Regions from separate parts of the Homo sapiens genome. Here region 2 is linked to region 1. The links are contacts of gene promoters, found by promoter capture Hi-C in blood cells and fetal thymus (Javierre and others, 2016). All regions are on one chromosome and are shown on one strand. Each heading gives the region's core, a stretch centred on a gene start or on the middle of the fragment in contact. The rest is flanking DNA. Distances are from core to core; before and after follow the strand shown.

Region 1 (3,273 bases), core at 39-2,538:
ATGTGCAGCCTGAGGTCATCACCAGGACACATGGGAGCCCATGGAAGGCAATGGAGGGACCATATCCAAACAGATGACTTCTGATGGGGTGCCAGCCAGGCCTGGGAGGCTCTCAGGTACAGAGCAGGCCAGGTGGGCTTCCTGAAGGAGGTGATATGAGCCAGAACCTGAAGGGGGAGCATGAGTTTGCATTGCAGAGGAGAGTGGGAAGGGCACCCTCTCAAGGCAACTGCACAGAGATGTGGAGGTGCAAAAATACAGAGACCAGGAGAGGGGAGGGGCCCCTGCTCCCCAGTCAAGCCCCGTCCTGTCCTGCGTCACAGCCCTGCTGTATTAGAGGCTGTGGTAACAGAGAGCCTGGCATGAGTGACACTCAAACACCAGGGGCATTGACTGCTCAATCACATCCCAGTCTGTGGCTGGGGTTCTCCTTGTGAAGAGCCAGGCCCCAGCTCAGGCCCCTGGGAGCACTTACCTTTCTTTCCCTGAGGCCATCTCTGGCTGCCAGGCTCCTTACAAGCCACACCTGCTGGGGATACAGCAGCCCACGGCTGTTTGGGCAGGCGGGGTAGCTCTGAGGCCATCTCCGGTAAAACTGTGCTGGGATGCGTCTTCCCAGGCTTTGTTCCCTTCTCTGTCTCATGTCCCCACCCCTACCAGCACTTGATCCCACTTTGGGGGAACTGATATCCCCATGAGCTCTTTGTGGCTGAGGCAAGGTCTGACCTGCTTCATAGGGACTACTGGAGTTGCTGAAGATGGGGACTGCTGACCTGGGCTCTGAAGACTTCGGGAATGCCTGTGGGAGCCCCGTGGTCTGGAGGGACAGGCCAGCTGAGGCTGGATCAAGGCCTCGGCTGCCCTGAGAGCACTCACAGGCTGCGGCTGTGGACACCAGGCTGACCCGAGGTGAGTCAGGAGGAAGAGTGCTGGTGGGGACAGGCTGGCGGTCTCTGGGTGCCAGGTTCTCATGGTCTCTGAGCAGGGCAGGTGAGCAGATGTGACTGGGGATTGATCTCGGAGGGTTGCTGGGTGCAATGGGAAGGGTTAAGGATGGGAGGCTGGCCCAGAGGGTGGCCCTGCAGGGTCCAGGCGAGGGGCAGGGTGCTGGGTGAGGGGCTGCAGTGATGCCCACAGAGAGTTTAGTGCGCAAGAGGCCACTGAGCCCACAGGTCCCCACTCAGCCTCCCCCACAGCCCCAGCCCACTCCTGAGTGGAGGCCCTTTAAACGCAAGGTTCTGTCCTCCCCTGGGAGGCCCCTCCCCGTCTCCTGGGCAGCCTAGTAAACAGAAGCCTGTCTCCCGGGCTGCTGGCATGGCCTCCTCTTGTCCTGGGACCCCCAGCCCAGCAGGTCTGCCCCCTCCTTCTGTAGCCACTCCAGGCGAGACACTTGGTGAGGGAGGGGAATGGACGGGAAGGGGGACGGGGCACCTGGGGCTCTGAGAATGTGGGAGCAGGAAGCGGCCCTCTGACCCATCTTCCAGAAGAAGATGCTCTGCCAAGGTCATGAAGGAGAGTGGCAGTGGGGCTGGGCCAGGATGGGGGCATGCGGGCATCAAAGCCTCCCTGTAAAGGTCCTTCTCCTCCCTACGCTCCCCAATGCTCTGATGCTCTGAAGTCCCCAGGGAAGGGGTTGGCTCTCTTCCTGAAGCCTTTGGATCTATGGACCTGGAGGTGTGCAGGGTCCTTCTCACTCTTTAGGGCCCCTTCCGGATCATTCTCCTGCCCTTGCCTCTTCTAAAACTCAGCTCTGGATCTCAGAGGCAGTGGGAGGGGCAGCCAGCCATCCATTCACTCACCCATCTATCCACCCATCCACCCACCCATTCACCCACCCACCCATCCATCCATCCACCCAACCATCCATGCATCCATCCATCCATCCATCCATCCATCCATCCATCCATCCATCCATCCATCCATCCATCCATCCATCCATCCATCCATCCATCCATCCACCCATCCACCCACTCCTCCACCCACTCATCTGCCCACCCATCCGTGCACCCTGCTCATGGTCAATGCCTTCACTCCTAAAGACCCTGGCCCCTGCCCTGCCCTCTCCCTAGCTCTCCTGTCATCCTATTGGTGATTTCTCTCAGCCCCTCGGACTCCTGTAAGGATTTTGTCCTCTCACCCAGCCACCCACCCGACAAACTGTACCCAAACTGCAGTCCCCTTGTCCCCACCGCACTCTGGGGATTCTTGCCCCAGCTCCTGCCCTCGAGGGCCAGCCCCAGCACTCCTTTAGTGAGGTGGAAGCCCACAGTGTCTTCCACCTGTCTGGCCTCCTCCACCCCTCCTCACATCTTTGCCATGGCCTCTGCCCCCTCGCTGGCCCCTCTCCTGTTTTCTTGTACTAGTCTGGCAGCTCCAACTCCCTGCTACCCTTGCCTGTGCCCTTGCAGTGGGCTGCAGCTGAGTGAACTCCACCTTGCTAATGCCTGCACTTGGCTTCAGCAGCAAGGAGGCCGGCTCCGCTGCCCTCCCTGGTCTGCCCAGCCTCTCCTCACCTAGCAACCACCTCGCACCTTCTCTCCCTCTAAGCCCCCATCGTCTCTCTCCTCACACTGTGCTGCTGGCCTTGCACCCTCCTTCCCTGAGAAGCTGAAGGCATTGGAAGAGGACTTTGCTGGTGCCCACCCACTGTACTTGTGGCATTGGGCGCTGTCCACCCCGGCCTGCTCCTGTGAATGCCCCATCCCTCCTCCCAGCCAAAGGCAGCATTCAGCTTCTCCCATTCCATCCCCCAACTCACGCTGTCACTCCAGCAACTCTTCACCCTCTTTCTCCTGCATCATGATACCGCTCTTTCCCAGGTCGTTCCCACTGGCATGAAAGCATGCTGCGATTTATCCTGTCTCTTGACCCCACTTCCCTTCCGTCTCCTGCCCTACTTCTCTGCTCCACATTCAGAGCCGAACCTCAGGAAGGTCATTTGTCTTTGCTGCCTCCACGTTCTCCCCTCTCCTTTGCTCTTGAACCCACTCTCACCGGGTTTTAATTTCCAGTGCTTCACTAAAGCAGCTCTAGCAAAAGTCATCAATGACCTCTGCGCTGGTAAGTCCGAGGTCACTTGGACTCATTTGATGTGATGCGCCGGCAGCACACGGCTCAGGTCCCTGCTGCCACACTTCCCACGCTCCCATCACTGCCCGCTCCCTCTTGGTGCCCTCACTGGCTCCTCATCTCCTTGACCTGGTCAGGAGGGAGGACCCGAAGCTCTCTGCTTGCGCTTCTGCCCTTTCTAACCCAACTCCCTCAGTGATTCAT
Region 2 (3,421 bases), core at 663-3,162, 910 kb after region 1:
TTCCTGCCCGCTTTGTTCTCCCTCCTGTGTCCACGGCAGGCCAGCCACTCTGTCATCTGGACAGCCCGCATTGGGCTGCTGTCACAGCGACGCCGTCGGATGGTATGCGGAGCACAGACCCCATGCCCACCAGGGAGGTCTTCCCTGTCCTGGCCTGCCCTGCCTCCTTCCTGCCCGGAGTATCTGAAGAAGGGATCCCACAGCTCCCTCTGCATTTCTCCATCTCTGCGGCCACCCCCTGCCCTGGGTCCGAGGTTTGTCTCCCCCGACCAGACGGTGGGTTGACTGTGAGTAGGACAGTGTATGGGTCATCTCAGAGTCCACGGCCCCCAGGAGGCAGCCATGGGAAACGCTGACCACCAAGGGTGGGCCCTGTGCTGGGTGATCTGGCCTCTAATAGTCCAAACATTCCTAGGAGGTGGCATCTGTAGCATGAGCTGCCAGTGGCCCCTGGGGAATAGAATCCTGGGTCTTAAGCTGGGTGAGTAGTTGCCAGAATAAAGACTTCACTTCACAGCCTGACTAATTTCTGACCGATGGGATGCATAGGAAGTGATGTGTGCAACCTCCAGGAAGTACCCTTAAAGAGCAGTGTAGGCCGCTCTTCTCCTCTGCTCCTTCCTGATGGACAGAAGGTGAGTGTGACAGCTGGAGCTCCAGCAGTCACCTTGGACCATGAGGTATAAGACAGAGATGAGGAGGAACAGTGTGGGATGCAGTTGAGGGCCAGAGACGCTGACGTCATCCTGCTCCGTGGAGTGAGCCATCGTGAAGGCCAAGTCAACACGTCGGAAAGAAGCAAAGTATGGAGAGTCAGAGGAGCAGAGCTGCGGCCCCATCACGCTTCATCCAAAACCCGCAACAGCATCAGGTTTTCCATTTGCTTAGGCTAATCCACCATCCACCATCTGCTTGCATGTGGTTTCAGCCAGCTTGAGTTGGGTTTTCTGTTATGGGTTTTCTGTTACAGGCCACTGAAAACTTCCCAACACATACAGTGGGAGAGTCATGTGTTTCAGCTGGCCTGTGAGCCTGGGGAACCCAGGCAGACTTCCTAGAGGAGGAGCCCCACTGGGAGAAAGGAGGGAAGGGTGCTCCATACTGTGGGTGAGGGCATGGGGGACAGGTCCTCAGACCAGGAGGAGAGCTGGTACCCCCTGGACTGATAACCTGGCAGCCCCTGGGTCCCAACCCCAGGGCCCTTTGCCAGGCTCCATTTGGCCCAATTTAAAATTCTCAGGGAGCACCTCACACCTTCCCTGGAACTGTGGAAAGCATGGCATGGCCTCTCTGTACCCTTCAGATTTAGTTACCGCACCTCCCAGCTTTCCCAGGGCTGCCTTCCTCTGACCACATGCACACAGGATACACAAACATGTGCACTTGCATATACACATGGGCTCTGTGTGCACCTCTGTGTTTACATGCCGGTGCACATGCCTGCACCCCATGTGTGTATTCACATGCCCTGTACACCCATGTGTACACCATGTGCGTGTGGTGTACATGTGCACGTGCCCTTATGCTCATATCATGTCCACGCACACACACGTGTGCACTTGCATATGCATTCTGTATATACAAGTGGGTGCACACATGTACGCAGAGTGTCTGCATGTTGTATGCTCCTACACACACGAGGAGCATGCGCAAAGCTGCACGTGTACACTTGAACATGTGTGCACATGCATGTACCCACCCATGTATACACGTGGTGCACACATATACACATGAGGGTGTGCATACAGGCACACGCCAATATGCCCTACTCTCCATACAGATTTAGTGGAGGCAGAAGTGCAAGGGGCGTGGGGTGAGCCAGGGTCCAGCCAGACCTGAGGGAGACCAGCTGACACCACAAGAGAGGGCCATGCCCTCCTCGGCCATCCGTAGCAGAGCTTGCCAGGCCCCCGCCAGCCTTGGGTTTAGCTATGGCTGGGGGCAGAGGTCAGGAATCCAGCTCTGGGTCCCCCATGCCTCAGGCTGTGCAGGACTTGAACCAGTCCCCAGGCCAACCCAGCACCACACCCTTCCCCCTCTGCAGGATGGGCCTCCCCTTTTCACCCCTACCTGGATTCCCAACCAAAGACTAAAGACTTCAGTAGGCAGGGAGATTTGCACATCCTCAGGTGGTCAGGCTTCAGAGCTGGGGTTGGTGGGTAGGCGGGTAGAGGGGCTGGTGTGGCTGAAGCCCAGGGGAGTGCTGGGGAGGTGGTTGGCAAGCTCCAGATCTCTGCTCTGGGAGAGAGCAGGGGGCTCCTCCCTGGGGCCCAGCGGGACCTCAGTTTCACGGGAGTCTCAGAGAGCCAAGCCCCCTCCTCTCCCAGATTTCCTTTGTCCCACAATCCCAATGTCTGTGCCAACCAACCTGGTGCAGACCCTCGCTGCCGTTGGTGCTGGTGAGGTACCATGCTTGGGGGCACGTGGTGGCTGAAGGGAGGGAAGGTGTGGAATGTCTCAGATCAGCAAGTTCCAAGCACGGCTCACCGGCCTCCGCCCATGTGGCCTCCATTCCTCCAGGCCAGGGACAGGGATGGGGCAGGAGACAGCCTGTGTCTTTTATTCCTTTTATTTTTGGGAAAACAACCTTCTCCACCTCTTCAGGATTTGGGGAGCTGCTGTTCTTCACACCCTCTAAATCTGGGGCCAGCAAGTCACCAGCGACCTCTGGTACTACGGAGGTCAGCCCGGGGGGATGAGTTACAATGAGTTACACAAGCCCGTTCGTGACCCACATCGCCTGCCTGACACACTCCAGACACTGCAGGGAGTGCAGGCTGGGATGTGGCACTGGAGGGCGTGCACGTGGGCGTGTGCTGAGATTGCGTTCCTTACACACACAGAGTCTGTGTGTGTACGAGTACATCCTCATCATAGCCTTGGTGGCATGCCCTGGGCCCCCACAGATCCTGGCCAAGGATCTGGGCTCTGAGCTGTGGACCTACCCATGTTAGCGGCTGGATCCAACAGTGCCTTCTGCCCAGGCCCATGGCGAGCCTGGCCCTGTGGAGGGACGCCTCCTCCGTCATTACCTGCGTCGTCTGTCCTCTCTCAGCCACCTCCACCTGCGTCACTGCCAGCCTGCCTCAGCACGGAGCCTGCTTTCCCTCCCACCCCCAGGCCCTCGGTTCTTCCCACGTGGGATATTCTGGCTGTACGCGCGTGACCGTGACTGTGGGGACTGGCCCAGGGCTTGACTGTGGGGACTGGCCCAGGGCTTTTCAGGGTTGGAGCTGGGATTGGAGCCCGCCCTGCCTCGGGGAAGATCCTCGCTCCCTTTCTCCACGGCACCTCTGTGATTCTCGTCACCTGCCAACACCAGCACCAGGGCTGCCCCTCCTGACGGCCCCCTCGCCGTCTTTCTGGGCACACTCCATCGGCACAGCGTCTTCACTGTCCTCCTGACAAACCTCGTGCCACC

What was found. Contacts are between HindIII fragments. The CHiCAGO score rates a contact against its expected background, and 5 or more counts as called.
Region 2: a contact is called between a fragment that was not itself captured here and the fragment with the promoter of C8orf90 in region 1, in 1 of 17 cell types (M0 macrophages). The highest score is 5.0, in M0 macrophages.

The regions. Positions count from the first base shown.
Region 1 is chr8:141,513,383-141,516,655 of GRCh38, forward strand. C8orf90 (chromosome 8 open reading frame 90) reads left to right here and starts at 1,289. Exons shown (of 2, transcript NM_001395960.1): 1 at 1,289-1,393. The coding sequence starts at 1,315. It overlaps LOC105375791 (a long non-coding RNA gene), which reads right to left and starts at 833. Exons shown (of 3, transcript XR_928727.1): 1 at 774-833; 2 at 476-526; 3 at 1-167. RefSeq lists silencers at 887-1,181, 3,267-3,273. The HindIII fragment of the contact is 11,475 bases long and covers 1-3,273 here.
Region 2 is chr8:142,424,559-142,427,979 of GRCh38, forward strand. No RefSeq gene overlaps it. Among named protein-coding and RNA genes, the nearest start is that of TSNARE1, 23 kb to the left of the region's middle. RefSeq lists an enhancer at 2,607-3,381. The HindIII fragment of the contact is 5,778 bases long and covers 1-3,421 here.